3 separate regions of the Homo sapiens genome follow, and regions 2 and 3 are each linked to region 1. Evidence: promoter capture Hi-C in 16 types of primary human blood cells and fetal thymus (Javierre and others, 2016). All regions are on one chromosome and are shown on one strand. The core of a region is centred on a gene start or on the middle of the fragment in contact, and the rest is flanking DNA. Distances in the headings are between cores, read along the strand shown. Region 1 holds the start of CPEB3 (cytoplasmic polyadenylation element binding protein 3). Region 2 holds the start of FGFBP3 (fibroblast growth factor binding protein 3). Region 3 overlaps IDE (insulin degrading enzyme).

Evidence for each region. The method cuts DNA at HindIII sites, captures the fragments that hold promoters and counts their contacts. A CHiCAGO score of 5 or more calls a contact.
Region 2: a contact is called between the fragment with the promoter of FGFBP3 here and the fragment with the promoter of CPEB3 in region 1, in 1 of 17 cell types (naive CD8 T cells). The highest score is 6.4, in naive CD8 T cells.
Region 3: a contact is called between a fragment that was not itself captured here and the fragment with the promoter of CPEB3 in region 1, in 1 of 17 cell types (non-activated CD4 T cells). The highest score is 5.5, in non-activated CD4 T cells.

What each region holds. Positions count from the first base shown.
Region 1 is chr10:92,288,344-92,293,508 of GRCh38, reverse strand. CPEB3 (cytoplasmic polyadenylation element binding protein 3) reads left to right here and starts at 2,431. Exons shown (of 10, transcript NM_014912.5): 1 at 2,431-2,583. MARCHF5 (membrane associated ring-CH-type finger 5) reads right to left here and starts at 2,342. Exons shown (of 6, transcript NM_017824.5): 1 at 1,980-2,342. The coding sequence starts at 2,014. RefSeq lists enhancers at 1,402-1,980, 2,928-3,137 and a silencer at 2,118-2,367. The HindIII fragment of the contact is 4,117 bases long and covers 1-3,524 here.
Region 2 is chr10:91,907,329-91,912,493 of GRCh38, reverse strand. It overlaps FGFBP3 (fibroblast growth factor binding protein 3), which reads left to right and starts at 3,008. Exons shown (of 2, transcript NM_152429.5): 1 at 3,008-3,096; 2 at 3,447-5,165. The coding sequence starts at 3,525. The coding sequence ends at 4,301. It overlaps FGFBP3-AS1 (FGFBP3 antisense RNA 1), which reads right to left and starts at 4,365. Exons shown (of 2, transcript NR_199602.1): 1 at 4,245-4,365; 2 at 3,146-3,597. RefSeq lists an enhancer at 3,368-3,662 and a silencer at 3,566-4,135. The HindIII fragment of the contact is 14,773 bases long and covers 1-5,165 here.
Region 3 is chr10:92,568,699-92,573,863 of GRCh38, reverse strand. All of the region lies in intron 1 of IDE (insulin degrading enzyme), which reads left to right. Among named protein-coding and RNA genes, the nearest start is that of IDE, 2.8 kb to the left of the region's middle. RefSeq lists a silencer at 1-371. The HindIII fragment of the contact is 1,298 bases long and covers 1,138-2,435 here.

The sequences.
Region 1 (5,165 bases), core at 1,182-3,681:
GTGAGCCACCGTGCCCAGGCTCACTCTTTGGCTTCTTACTTTTATGGAAATATCCAAAGAGCATATGAAAAGTTAGGTCAGCTTTTGGACATAAGAACTTTTCTAGGCTGGGCACGATGGCTCATGCCTGACAATCCAGCACTTTGGGAGGCTAGGCGGGAGGATCACTTGAGCCCAGGAGTTTGAGACCAGCACAGGCAACATGGCAAAACTCTGGCTCTATAAAAATACAAAAAATTAGCTGGGCATGGTGGTATGTGTTGTGGTCCCAGCTACTAGGGAGGCTGAGGTAGGAGGATCACCTGAGCCTGGGAGGCGGGGGTTGCAGTGAGTTGAGATCATGCCAATGCCACTGCCACTGCCACTGCATTCCAGTCTGGGCAACAGAGACCCTGTCTCAAAAAAAGAAGAAAAAAAGTCACTATGTAAAAATGAAAAGCAGGAGGCCCTCAAAGGAAAAAAATTAACTACAAAATACCCCACATCAGAACAGGGTCTCAACAGAATAGAACTGGCAGTGGCAGGTGGTTTCCTCTGGGCATATTTTAATTTGCCACAATTTGCCAATTTACAATGAAAGGAAAACCTGGTAAATTATCAGACCCCCTAGACAACTGGGGAAACTGACAAATAAGTTTGTGCATTAGTTCATACAACAAATACTTACTGATTACCTACTGAGTACCAGGCTCTGTTCTGGGATTCAAGATAAACAATAGTAAGTTTCTGCTTCCAAGAGCTTATAAACCACACACATATCACACACATATATATATAAAGCAGTCAATACAATTGTCAGGATGTTGACCTGAAACAAGGGCTGGATGAATCACCAGTTATCTCAACTGAAAAAAATCAGTGACATAATTCCTATTAACTGAGATGGCTCAAAATTCTAAGCTCCAAAAAAATGTCTGTCACTCTGGAAGGATGTGTACCCTTGGGTCATTTGTGTTCTGGGTGTGGCAGGCCCAAAAGCATTTAACTGGGTATAAACTCAATTAAGGGAGGGCCTTCATTTAACACCTTACAGTTGGAATTTTACTGAGTACAAAGAGTTGGTACCACCTGCTGAAATGGGTGGCAAGTGGTGTCTATTGAGAATTGTAAGCAACCACAAACATCATGAATTAGCTTGTACAACTTGCTATGCCAGGAAGTAAGACTTGGCTCGGGGGAAATGTGGATCTAGAGTCTCCAAAAACTCATGGTAGGACCCACGGACCAGAATTTCAACAGCAGAGGGCGGTGCACCCGACTTCACAAAGAGTTTTACCGACTGGGGCCCCCCAAGAATGGGCAACTGGACTCCTGTACGAGCTGAAACGTCTTCAATGAACTCAACGATCGTCAAGTACACTAAATGTTCAGCGTTGGACTCATTTGGCTGTTTTCCATAACCTCTACTCTGGTCTGACCGTTAAATCTCCCTTGCGGATACTCTGACCTTACAGTTCGGAGGTGGGGACGGGATGGGGCGGGGGGGACGGGGGGTGCGGGTTCAGGGAAAGTGGGAGAATGAAATCAGCCTATCAGGCTTTCCAAAAGAATGCTTATCATTGGTTCTCAGACAGAGACTTAAAATTATAAGGGGGTCATTCCCCTGAAAGATAACCCGGTTCTTGCCAGTGACATCGCTGACAAACACTTCACAAGTTGGGGAGGGGGAAGGGGGAGGGGAAGAGGGTAAGGAAAACTAATTTTGTGGATTAACAGGAGTCCCTCTCAGGTCAAAACGGGGTTCCAAGGAAACCAGACGCCACTCCTTAGCTAAGTTTCACCCAAAGTCTACGACCCAGGCCGCTCGCTCTGTCCTCCCCCAGGTCTAGACTCCAAACTTTTTGCCCCTCTCACGGCCCCCTGGCCGTGGAACTCCTCCCGGCACGCCGGGTTCTGCTCACCAAGAGCCTCGAGGGCGGGCGCGGGCAGGGCCAGAGCGAGGGTCGGCGGCTCCCGGTCCCCCCCACAGCTGCCCGTACCTGTCCAGCATCTGCTGTAGGGCTTGGTCCGGCATCTTCCGCGGAGCCGGCGCACACGGCCTTCCCCAGTGGACCCGCTCAAGGCCAGGCCCAGGGACAATAGCACTGAGAGGCGGCGGAGTAGGCCGCAGTCCGGCGGCAGCCGCGAACCCGTCACCCAGCTTCCCGGGGCAGCTCCGCTAGCCTGGCGGCGGCGGTGCAGGGCCTGCGGGAGTCCGGCGGAGGCGGCGGAGAGCGAGGAGGAGGAGCCTGAGGCGGGGAGGCGGCGATCGCGGCCCGGGTTCCCGTCCGTCGGCCCGAGGTTCCGGTCCATGGACCGCGGGCGCCGAGTTGCTGCCGGCGGAGGAGCTACCTTTGTGAGGTAAGAGTCGCCGCCTCCGTGCGCGCCAGGGTTACGACGCAGGGCGGCCCAGAGCAGCCTGGGAGATGTAGTCTTCGGACCGTCTCCACTAGAGGCTGCACAGCCCGCCCGGACCAACGCCTCCGCGCCTGCCGCCGTCTGGCCGGCGCCCTCCCGTTTCCTTCCTCCAGGGGGAAAAAATGTCTTTCGGGCCGCTTTCCAGGAAGCAGCAGGATGCGCCGCTCCACTGTCGGTAGCAACAAGGTCAGCCCTCCCTGCCTGTTTGTTTTTGCCTCCGCTCTTGCCCTCAGGTGGGACCGAGCCAGGTGAGGGGAGGGGGCTGAAGGGCCATTTCTTATCAGGGTCCCCGGCCCCGGCCGTGGCGTCGGGGCGGTCAGTGGCGGCAGTGGGGGTGGCAGAAACTCCTTCCGAAGCCCCCGGCGCTGGAGCCAGCCTCTCCTGCGGCAGAGCCCATTTTGGGGGAATTACACCACCTCCGCGAGGGGTCGGTTGGTTTGGTGCGTGAGGTTCTTCTTGAGGGGGCGGGCAAATAGGGACTGCCTGGACCAGACAGCTTCCACCCGAGTCTCTCTGTGTGTTTGGGGCTGGGGAGTTGGGGGAAGGAAAGATGATTCTCTCCCTCTCCAGGAACCTTCTCAAATGTGCCTGGGCTTTCCAGGGCTCGCCGACAGTCTCCAAATGGAACACGTTGGTGAATAAACAGCTCTTGCTTACTCAGCTGTGGGTTGTCAGGGATGTTTGTTTCTCTCTCTGCTGCTGGTCACTGTTAACCGTTTCTAGTCGCGTTGACACCTTCAAGCAGGTGGATTGGGAGTGGCGGGGGTGGGGAATCAAAAAGGAGAAATCATCAGTCACTCCTTGGGTCAGCTTCTGACGTTCGAGGGATAGCTTTGGCGGGAGGAAAGAGCTGTCGGCTCAAACGAATGCGTTTTTTGGACGACCTGTGGCGTTTTCTCTAGGGCTGTGATTGGTAGGACGCTGGTAGTTTTCCCTTGATTATGTCTAATATCTGCTACAAGGTGTTTGATTTTTTAAAAAATGAAAATGTGTTTTTAAAGCTCTTTTTATATGTAGAATTTTACAATCAACTTTTCATTATCTGTTCAAAATTTGCGAAGTATATTTGAACTAGAGTGTTCATTGCTGGGAAAAAACAACAAACCCAAAAAATGTGACCAGAAGCTTACTTGGCCTCCAATTTTTGAAATATGTTTTTGAGAAACAGCACCCACCCCCCCCCACCACACACATACACACACACTCCTCCTAGGGAAAGAAAATGAGTATTTAGTTTAATCGGGGTGTCTAATATTTTATATATATTTGTATTATATATAATATATATGTATTATATAATATATAATACATTTATAATATATAATACATATATACATTTATAATATATAATACATATATATATATATATATATATATATTTTTTTTTTTTTTTGGTAGAGACGCGGTCTCGCCATGTTGCCCAGGCTGGTCTTGCAACTCCTGGGCTCAAGCGAGCCACCCGCATTGGTCTCCCAAAGTGTTGGGATTACAGATGTGAGTCACCGCATGTGACCAGTGTCTAATATTTTATTTAATTAATTCATTTATTTAATTAATTCATTGATTTTGAGAGATGGAGTCTTGCTCTGTTGCCCAGGCTGGAGTGCAGTGGCGCTGTCTTGACTCACTGCAAGCTCCACTTCCTGACTTCAAGTGATCCTTCTAGCCTCAGCTTCCCAAGTAGCTGGGACTACAGGTGTGTGCCACCACACCCAGCTAATTTTTGTGTTTTTTAGTAGAGATGGGGTTTCACTATATGTTGACCAGGCTGGTCTCGAACTTCTGACCTCAGGCGATCAGCCCGTCTCGGCCTCCCAAAGTGCTGGGATTACAGGGGCGAGCCACCGCGCCTGGTCTATTTTATTTTTTTGAGACGGAGTCTCGCTGTGTTGCTCAGGATGGAGTGCAGTGGCACTATCTTGGCTCACTGCAGTCTCCTCCTCCGGGTTCAGGTGATTATCGTGCCTCAGCCTCCGGAGTAGCTGGGATTACAGGCTCGCACCACCATGCCTGGCTAACTTTTGTATTTTTGGCAGAGGCAGGGTCTCACCATGTTGACCAGGCTGATCTTGAACTGATCTCAGGTGATCTGCCTGCCTCGGCCTCCCATAGGGCTGGGATCATAGATGTGAGCCACCGTGCACAGCCCGGTGTCTTAACATTTTAAATTATTATTTTTTGCTCCTTGTGCTGTGTCAGTCTAACCTTATTGTGTACTTATTTCTTAAGCAGTTGTCAGCCATGGGAGTTGGATATATACTTCCTGCTTAAAAACAGAATTTTATCCCAGCATATGGATTAAGTACACTAGTACAAACTCCAAGATTCTAAGATCTTAACCAATGTTAGAATGTCTGTTTCAACTGAAATTGGAAAATATGATACCTTTTGTTGATAGCAAAGACTTGTGCACCTTGACCTTATTATACCAACAAATGGATTTTATGTTTGCATTTTTATGAAAAATCAGCTTTCTGGCTGTGTCAAAAACCTTTTAAAGTAGAAAAAAATCCTGTTACTGGTCTAAAGAGTGATTAGCATGTGACCCAGTAATTCCACTTCTAGGTATTTTCAAGAGAAATGAAAACATGTCTACACAAAATCTTGTTTGTGAATGTTCATAGCAGCATTATTCTGGGTTTTTTTTTTTTTTTTTTGAGACAGAGTCTCGCTTTGTCATCCAGGCTGGAGTGCAGTGGCGCCAGCTCACTGCATCCTCAGCCTCAGGGGCTCAAGCACTCCCCCTGCCTCAGCCCCCCAAGTAGCTA
Region 2 (5,165 bases), core at 1,759-4,258, 380 kb after region 1:
CTGGGATTACAGATGTGAGCCACCATGCCCAGCCTGAATTGGTATAATTAAAACATAACTAATAGTAAAATACAAAGACAAAACATAAAGATCACTGATCACTGAAAGATGTAAGTGGTTTTATCACTAAATGATGTGTGAACCTGGACAAGTTATCTAGTTTCTCTGATTTTACCAGAGTGTTAAAAACTTCCTTTCTGAAGTCAATATACATTGCTATATATTTAATATATACTACTATATATTTAAACATATTCTTCTAATTCTAAAGTATTTTGGTTTTTATAGTAGTAACCAAACTATAATTGTTCAAATATAATACTAACAGGAGTTCAGTAATAGAAAATGCTATATGCAAGAGGACATTAGGAAATATAATAAGAATTCCTGATATCTTGAGGAAGTATTTAAGTAAAATATTTACTTGTGTAAAAAAATTACAGTCAGAGGTATAAACTTCTGCAATTAAAAAAAATCACATTTATTAATGAGAACATTTTTAAAAGATGATGGAATATTCTGAAGTTTTAAAACAGCTTTGCTAAGGGTCATTTCTGTGTGTCACTTTATTTCTTTTTATATAGCTATAGTATATTTAAACAATAATGCTGTCTTTTATAAGGGTTTGTCTATTTACCTATTCTTTACTCAGACATTGATGTAGACCTTGTCAGATTATTCTGAGTATTGTTAACAGTGCCTTTTTGATGGAATTCACACTTTTTGGCTGTCAACTTGTGCCATATACACACAAAATTTTGTGGAAGGCAGTTTTAATTTTTTGAAGAACATCTGTCAAAATTTAAGAAAACAAATGTATAAAATTCCATTTTTTCCAGTGTTTAGCATTTCTAGTAAGCAGTGAGGTTTTTTGTTTGACATACAGTGATGATGGCATTATTGACAAGCTATACATGAGACTGCAGATTATACTGAATCATGTTAAATGTACAGAAATAAAATATTAGATTTATATCAAACTTTCGCATTTGAACCAGTGGGGAAAACCCCACAGAAATCAGTAAGTTAACATTTCAATGTCTTTCTTATTTGACTAAGTGGAAAGAGAGTCTTTAAAATGTATAACCTGCCATTATGTAATTTGGTTTCATTTTATTCTACCTGTTGTGTGAGTTTAGTATATTTAATTTACTTTGTGTTACTCTACATACTGTTTATTTTTGTTACAGTTTTTAATTGAAGATGGACTCTGAAAGTGGTATAGGACCAGTGTCTTATTAATATCATTAATATATTAAGAGGAGCCACACAAAACCCATGACAAAATGAATGGAAATATTCTTTCTAAAAATTTAGAAAATTTTATACTTTTGCATTTATTATGTAAAATTATTTGTTTTACAATATCAAAATTTTTCGTTTAAAGAAAAAAATGCCATGAAACATTTGAACTGATGAGCCACAGAACTTCAGTTGAAATTTTTTTCACTTTTTAGCATGCTAAATATACATCTCAGTTTAAATATTCTGTTTAATGGCCATTTATAAATTCAAGCACTACCACTGGTCAGTTTTGTGTGATAGAATAAAAATATGTTACCTGCAGTGTAAGTATAGCACACTGTCAAATTCTTTTCCTTAAGGTGCACAGTAAATGTACAGATAGTTATAGGCCACTGTTTTTGCAATGTAGTACATTTCTAATCTATTATTCCTAACCTATTATAACTGTTTGCAGAGAGAAAATAATTGAATTTTTCTAATAATCTGTAAAATTATGCTAACTTCTACAAGTAGGCTTCTAAATAAAAATTTTAAAAAGAGCAAAAAAAAAAAAAAAGAAAGAAAAAACAGCTTTGCTTGGTCAGCACTTTGAGAGGCTGAGGCAGGTGGCTCATCTCAGGTCAGGAGTTCGATACCAGACTGGGCAACATGGTGAAACCCCTTCTCCACTAAAAATTAGCTGGGTGTTGTGGCAGGCACCTGTAATTCCAGCTACTGGGGAGGCTGAGGCAGGTGAATCGCTTGAACCGGGAAGGCAGAGGTTGCAGTGAGCCGAGATAGCACCACTGCGCTCCAGCCTGGGTGACAGAGTGAGCTCCCGTCTCAAAACAAACAAACAAACAAACAAACAAACAAACCCCCGCACACACACACAATCCCCCCCTCCAGAAAAAGCAGCTTTGCTTAAATGTAACATTTTCAAGATTCAAGAACACATTCATTCTCTCTCTCTTTTTTTTTTTTTTTGAGAGGCAGTCTCGCCCTGTCCCGGGTTCAAGTGATTCTCCTGCCTCAGCCTCCTGAGTAGCTGGGATTACAGGCATCTGCCACCACGCCTGGCTAATTTTTGTATTTTTAGTAGAGACGGGATTTCACCAGGCCAGGCTGGTCTCACATTCTTAACTATTATACCATTTCAATTGGTAATCTTACCGTTCAACTACTATAATACAAATAATTTTTTTAAACTTCTAATTTTTGGAGGACCCTTATAACTGATTTCTAATACCTAAAAATAATAAAAAGCCCAAATGTCCACTCCTGGGTGAACTGCTGGGCACTATTGTATGTTAATAAACTAGGATATTATATTTTTATTAGTAGTAACAATTATTAAGATTGAGAGTCTTAAGAAAGGCTATTGGAAATAATAGGTAAAAATGTAGAACTCAGAATATGAGAAATAGAATGTAAATGATATAATTGTGTAAAAAATGCCTAGTTTAGAATACTGAAGTTTGTTTTGTTTCATTTTATTTAACTTTTAAAACTTAGATCTTTTGTTTAATTTTTATTTTTTGGATGGTTAAGTACATGAAAGAAGAAAAACTTGGTTAATTTTGCCTGATTATTTTAAACATTGGAAGCAAAATACAAGATTTGTATTTCATACTACAGGACCGCTTCCATCATCCATCTGGAGAGACAGAGAGAGAGAGGGAGAGAGAGAGAGAAGCGCGGCGGTGATAAGTCTCCCAGTGTGAGAGAAATCGGGGAGGGGCGAAGAAGGGTAGGCCTCTTCTGTTCCATTGATACCACGTTCATTCACAGGGAGCCGGCTAAAACAGACTACTCCCCCGTGCAGTCGTTCCCTCTACCCTAATAAGGCTTTGGCGCCTCTCCCAGAACTCGGTAAGTTCAAAGTGTAGTAAAGTGCATGTTTCCAAGGAATCATCTGAAATGATTTTGTAGATAGTTTATTGCAGGTTGGAGAAGGGAGAAAATGAAGGAAGGGGTAGAGGGGGCAATTATCACGCATCGTTTTGCTATCGTATTTGCAAGGGGAAGAAAATCTCAATGCATACATGGTTCGAAAGTGATTATTTAGACAGTAAGCAGTTTCCCCAGGAAAGCTCCTCAGAGGGTCTCCTCGCAGGCTGCAGATTCTAGAAAGTCTGCGGAAGAGTAGTTCGCAGGTGCATGTGTCTGGGCGAAGCGCTGCGTGTGGCTCAGTTGGTGGCAGTCTCTGCCTCTGTCCGCAGGTCCTGGGGAATGCTCTTTGCCTGGTCCAGCCCCGACAAACGTGGTCTGAGAACAGCGGAGCGCGGAAACCGCGGAGCATGACTCCTCCGAAGCTGCGAGCGTCGCTGTCGCCGTCGCTGCTGCTGCTGCTGAGTGGTTGCCTCCTCGCGGCTGCTCGGAGGGAGAAAGGGGCGGCTAGCAACGTGGCGGAGCCGGTCCCCGGGCCCACTGGCGGCTCCTCGGGTCGCTTCCTCAGCCCCGAGCAGCACGCGTGCAGCTGGCAGCTCCTGCTGCCCGCCCCGGAGGCCGCAGCGGGCAGCGAGCTGGCGCTGCGCTGCCAGAGCCCGGACGGGGCGCGCCACCAGTGCGCCTACCGCGGGCATCCGGAGCGCTGCGCAGCCTACGCCGCTCGCCGCGCGCACTTCTGGAAGCAGGTGCTGGGAGGGCTGCGCAAGAAGCGGAGGCCCTGTCACGACCCCGCGCCGCTCCAGGCCCGCTTGTGCGCGGGCAAGAAGGGCCACGGCGCCGAGCTGCGGCTAGTGCCCCGCGCGTCCCCGCCCGCACGCCCCACCGTCGCGGGATTCGCGGGGGAGTCCAAGCCCCGGGCCCGGAACCGGGGGCGGACCCGGGAGCGTGCGTCCGGCCCAGCCGCTGGGACCCCGCCTCCCCAAAGCGCACCGCCCAAAGAAAACCCCTCAGAGAGGAAGACCAACGAGGGCAAGAGGAAGGCGGCCTTGGTCCCCAACGAGGAGCGACCCATGGGGACCGGGCCCGACCCCGACGGGCTGGACGGGAACGCGGAGCTCACGGAGACCTACTGCGCTGAGAAGTGGCACTCCCTCTGCAACTTCTTTGTCAATTTCTGGAACGGCTGAGACTGCCTGCCGGCTTAGGGAGGGTTGATGGGGGAGGCGTGGGGAAGGGAAAGCTAAGGGCGTCTTAGACCGGGGGGTACTGTGATAGAGATTGGGGAGAAGTCCAGGTTCTCGAATGGGGGTGGGGGCAAGGGTAAGGGTGAGATGCTTGGGATGAGAGTGTAAGGGGTATGGAGAATCTCTGGGATAGCAGAGAAGTTAAAAATTTTGAAAAGTCTCAGTCCTGATTAAGAGCAGGAAAAATAATGGAAACAGAAATAGGCGTACTTTAAATGTGCAAAAACTGGAGACTGGGGAGAGAAATCGATGCAGAGGGAGGCTGAGAATAAGGGGGAGATAGAGTGACTAAAGTGATGTGAGTCCCATGTGGGGAGGGGGATGCAATGTTTATTGTTTAACATTTCTATTAAATGCAGCCATGAGCAATTGCCAACCTGAGCCAGGTTGAATCAATGTCTTCTCACTTAATCAGCTAACAAGACTGCAGACTTTTTTTCCGTTTCTGAATTGGTATAAACTTGGATGCGGCGTGGTGGGTGTCATAGATAACCTCTATAGGGACAGAAGCCTCACAGGTCAAAACTGGCTCCAAGGAAAGTTTTGCAGAATGATTTCCTTTCCATTCTTTTAGAAGAGCTACCTTTTTTTTTTTTTTTCCCTGACAGGGTCTGGCTTGCCCAGGCTGGAGTGCGGTGGCTAGTCACAGGTGTAATAATAGGCACTGCAGTCTCCAACTCCTGGCCTCAAGGGATCCTCACATCTTAGCCTCCAGAATAGCTAGGAGTAGGAGTAGCTGGGACTACAAGCATGCACAGCTGCACTTGGCTTAGAAGTGCTACTTTATTTTTATTTTTGAGACAGGGT
Region 3 (5,165 bases), core at 537-3,036, 280 kb before region 1:
CGGGTTGCAAAGTGGTGATTCAGCACTTAAAGCCGCCACCGCTGCCCCTCACGCCGCCCGTCCCGCCGGCCTGGGGCCCGTACTGCCGCGCTGAGGCCGCCCCAGGGCCCGGAAGAGCGGCTCGCCAGGCGGGAGCCAGAGGCCTGGTCCAGAGTCGGGGACGTCCCTTGGGCTGGTGAGGGGCCGGGGCCGCTACCCGGGGCCACGGGGCGTGTGCCACTAGTGCGGGGGGCGCAGGGGCGGACAGAGTCACCCGGCCTGCACCTGGGAGCCGCGCCGCGTCACTCTCCCGGAGTCCGCCTGTGAGGGGGCCGGGAACCTGAGGCGGACTCGAGCCGTGGGGTAAAGGAATCCGGCGACTTCGGGGGGACCGCTTCTCACCTTGCCCTCAGCCCTGCCCTTTTCTCCGGGCACTGAGTTTCCAGGACCGTGTGGAATGCCCGCGCTGGGAAAAAAGTTTGCCTGCCTCCCGCCTTGGAAGACGAGTGTGGGGTTTCCTATCGGGGGACATTTAGGAGCCAAAAGATACCTCGGGATCCTCTACAGCAGCTCCCTTGTTTTACGTCGGAGACAACCGGAGCTCCGAGAGATGGCTTGATTTCCCAGCAACTGCCGAGATTGTGGCAAAACCAGGATTAGGACACAGGTTTTTTGCCATCCGGCGGCGTGCCCTCTCCACTGCACCGTTGATCTGCGTACGCTAGGCGTTTTCAGGCTTGTAGTGAACGCTGAATACTTTTTACTACGAATGGAAGAAGATAGGCAGTATTATCTTGCCCTCCCTAGAAACGTTATTTGAACCCCTGCTGGTTTTAATCAGTAATAGCCAGCACCTACTAAGTGCAGGGCACTGTGCTGGACCCTCTATGTAAAGTATGTGTCTGCCTTCCAAGGAACTTTGACTTGATTGGAGCGGATTGGGATGCCACGGGAATTGAGATAGCTACAAGGGTGTGTTGATGAGGGTCAGAAGATGGGTAGTATGGGTAGTGTGTGGGGCCAGAGATGGGGGGGTAGGCTGGCTTTGGAAGGAATGGCAGAAAGGTTGGAGTGAGGGCTGGCGTGGGCGTAATCCAGCCTAGATATGCGGGCAGTTTGTGTTGGGGGAGCAGTGAGCCGATTAGTCTGGTTGAAGCTTTATAGAATTTCCTTGGGGTAATTAGAAGGACACAAGTCCTGTATTATAACAGTAGGGTAATGCTGGCCTGGGTCTTGAATTTTAGTTGGGATTTTCCCAATGCGTAGTAGGTAGGGAGCCATTAAAGTTTTTGAGCTGGAAAGTTATCTGATGGAACTGGGGGTTTAGGAAAGTAGTTTGGTGGCTGTGTGCAGGATGTCAGGAAGTGGAGAGAGTCCTAAGGCAGAGAAACCTGTTGGGACTTAGTCTTTACTGCCTGTATTAGGATGGTAGCAGTGGGGCACTAAGATAAGCTAATACAAATGAAGACTCTATGGAACTTGTTCTCCTCTGTTTTCCACTACATCACAAAATCTCCTATAATGTGCAAAAGACCCCTGAACTTAGAGAATCAGGTGGTAAGCACAGGCAGGATGCCTCCTTTTGTCCTCTTTTGTGTCAGTCTGCTTTTGTTCTAAATTCATTACTGATAGGCTAGGCTTAGCTGTCTCCATACTGTCTCCAGCATATAGCATTTGTGATTTTTAAAGAAAGCACCAATTTTAAGTTTTGTATAACTAAGTGGTTTGTATGTTCTAGTTAAAATTACATTTTCTCTGTAGTTATAAAGTCCGGTCGACCATCCAGAGTTTTAAGATATGTTTTTCTCAAAGATGGAAATTTGAGAGATTCAAAGCATAATGAATGAGATGAGCCAGCTAGAAAGCTCTACCCTAAAATCAGTGAGTGAGGCTTTTGAGGAAAATACAGGTCCAACCAAAGGGATTAGGGCATAGTTTTAGGAAGGAAAGCACTAACATCTGAAGCTACCACATATTCTCATCTTAAGGAATGCAATCAGCCCTACTGTACATAGTCGGAAGAATGTCTTAACAGAGATAGCCACACAGCTATTTGCTGGAAGAGCTGGGATTTAACCCATGTCTATCTGGCATCGGAGCCTGAGCTCTTAACTGTTATGTATTTGCAAACACAAGTACTGCCTCTGCTGGTATTTGGGCATTCATTTTCTGGTCTAACCTCTTGAGACAGAGATGGTCTTAAAGCATTTATGTAAGATCAATCCATTTACAGAGTAACCTCCTTGTTCTGTGTTCAGCTGTATTTTATAACTTGGGACTGTGTGGAATTATCTGAACTACTGGGGCACCTGGAGATAATAGCCCATTCCCTGGCAACAACTTGAGCCACCTGGGCATCAGTCATCTCACTTTGCAGGCAGCCCTACTTTGCATTTCCCTGTTCCATAGGCTTAGGAAACAGTGGTATGTCAGTTGGGACTATCAACATTCAAGCTTTTAAACTACTGTCAATCAGAAAAATGCCTTTTAATAGTGTAAAAGAACAGGGTACCCCTGAAGTTTCTTTAACCTAATCCACACATTCTGCCTGTCTTGAAAGTTAGGGTTGAGGCCAGGTGGGGTGGCTCATGCCTGTAATCCCAACACTTTGACAGGGCGAGGTCGGGGGGATCACTTGAGGTCAGGAGTTCAAGACCAGCCTGGGCAACATGGTGAAACCCCATCTCTACTAAAAATACAAAAAAATTAGCCGGGCGTGGTGGTGGGCGCTTGTAATCCCAGCTACTCATGAGGCTGAGGCAGGAGAATCGCTTGAACCCGGGAGGCTGAGGCAGGAGAATCGCTTGAACCCAGGAGGCGGAGGTGCAGTGAGCTGAGATCGTGCCACTGCACTCCAGCCTGGGTGACTGAGCGAGACTGTGTCTTAAAAAAAAAGAAGTTAGGGTTGGGGACAGTCTCCCCAGGGTAGGGGAGAAAAAGTTCAGTATGTTTTCTTTTTTTTAAAGTTCGAGACAGGGTTTCACTCTGTCGCCCAGGCTGGAGTGCAGTGATGTGATCTCAGCTCACTGCAGCCTTCATCTCTTGGGTTCAAGTGATCCTCCCACCTCAGCCTCCTGAGTAGCTGGGACTGCAGGCTCATGCCACCACCCCACAACTAATTTTTGTATTTTTGGTAGAGATGGGGTTTTGTCATGTTGCCCAGGGTGGTCTCAAACTCCTGGGCTGAAGCAATCCCCCTGCCTCCCAAAGTGCTGGGGTTACAGGCATGAGCCACTGTGCCAGGCCCAGTATATGTTTCATAAACACTGGTTTCCTTTCTGTTTTTCTGTTGGTATTTTATATCTCCTAAACATGTAGCCAGAGGATCAGGCTACCTTTTAGCCAGGATGACAAGGCTAGAGCACTTTCCCTCCACAGGGGTAGATCCTCTATAGATATGTTAGGTTCTGGAGCCTTCTCATTTGGCTTGTCTTCAGTCTGTTTTCACTGTTCTGTTAGTTTAGACATTATTTGAATGTCTACTCTGTAGTGATCACACACTGTGTCCAGTACTATGTAAATGCAAAGATAACCATAAATCTTGTCCTCAAGGAGCTTTCAGTAATAAACAGTAAACTGCTTTACCTCTGACCTTTTACTAGACACCTCCACTTTTATGTTTTGTTGTTTCTTTCAATTAATTTTGAAAAACAACTTAGTATTTTATCACCATACTGATTACTTTTTTAAAAAGTGGGACTCACAAAATTATTTTATTCTTCTCAAAGAACTGTTTAGTTTCTTTTTGCCTATTAAAAGTGTAACTTTTTTTTTTTTTGAGACTGAGTCTTGTTCTGTTGCCCAGGCTGGAGAGTGACACGATCTTGGCTCACTGCAACTTCCACCTCCCGGGTTCAAGTGATTCTTCTGCCTCAGCCTCCAGAGTAGCTGGGATTACAGGTGTGTGCCACCACACACAACTAATTTTTGTATTTTTAGTAGAGCTGGGATTTCACCATGATGGCCAGGCTGGTCTTGAACTCCTGACTTCAGGTGATCTGCCCACCTTGGCCTCCCAAAGTGCTCGGATTACAGGCGTGAGCCACTGCGCTCGGAATAACTTTTTAAAGTAGGACTCACAATCTGCTTTCTGAAGGGAAGGCATCACACTCTGCCTGACACATAGTAGGTACTCAGTACATATTTACTGCATAACTTAATTGATTAATGGTCTTTTTTCAAAACAATTTTTTTCTGTAGAGTCCTTAGTTTTGCTATGTTGTTATCATTTTTTCAGTTTAGCTTGAAAATGAGAGTTTTCAGTTTAGCTTGAAAATCTTTGAATCTTTTTCCCTCATTGCCTATTCCCAAGACCCAATCCTCCTGAGTCTTTCATCCTAAAGATTCCTAAAGTTTCTTGGAGTGATCTTGACCCTCATCACCATCCTAGTTCAGGCCATGATCATCTTCGTAACATCTTACATCAGTGAGATTATCTCACCTGAACAGGTTTTAGAACTGACTTTTCCAGCCTTCTGTCTCCCTACTAGTTGATTCTTATCATCACATCAGATTAATAAACCACTTTTCCCAAGCTGTTGTCTCGCCTAAATATCACCAGTGGTTCTGTGCTATTTCAAGATCAAGTTCAAACTTCTTGACCCAGCATGTAAGCATTCTGTTGGCTGGCTTAGCCCAACTTTTCAGCCTAACTCTTCTCCAGTCAGACTTACCAATTTGCTGTCTCCTTTTACATGACCTATTCATTCCCAATTCCGAGATGCCCTTTCTGTCTTTTCTTTATATGACTAAATCCTTTATTCTTTTTAGGCCTTGTTATACAGGTCACACAATTACTCTTCCTTTTTCTCAACTTAATAATTTTTAAAAACATTGTGAAACATCTATTTGATGTTTATATATTGCCTCTTATTTTTTTACTCTCTTATTTAATATTGTACATGCCAGAGTATATAGGACAAAGAAGAAAAAAACACCTGTGTACCATCTACTTTAGGAAACAAACATTTCCAGCAACTTTGAACCTGTCTGTGCTCACCTGTCCAATTATAACTCTGCTCCTCCCCTGTAAAGGTATTGTTATTATTATTATTATTATTTTTTTTTTTGAGAAAGAGTCTGCCCTTGTTGCCCAGGCTAGAGTACAGTGGCGCAATCTCGGCTCACTGCAACCTCCATCTCCCAGCTTCAGGCGATTCTCCTGCCTCAGCCTCCCAAGTAGCTGG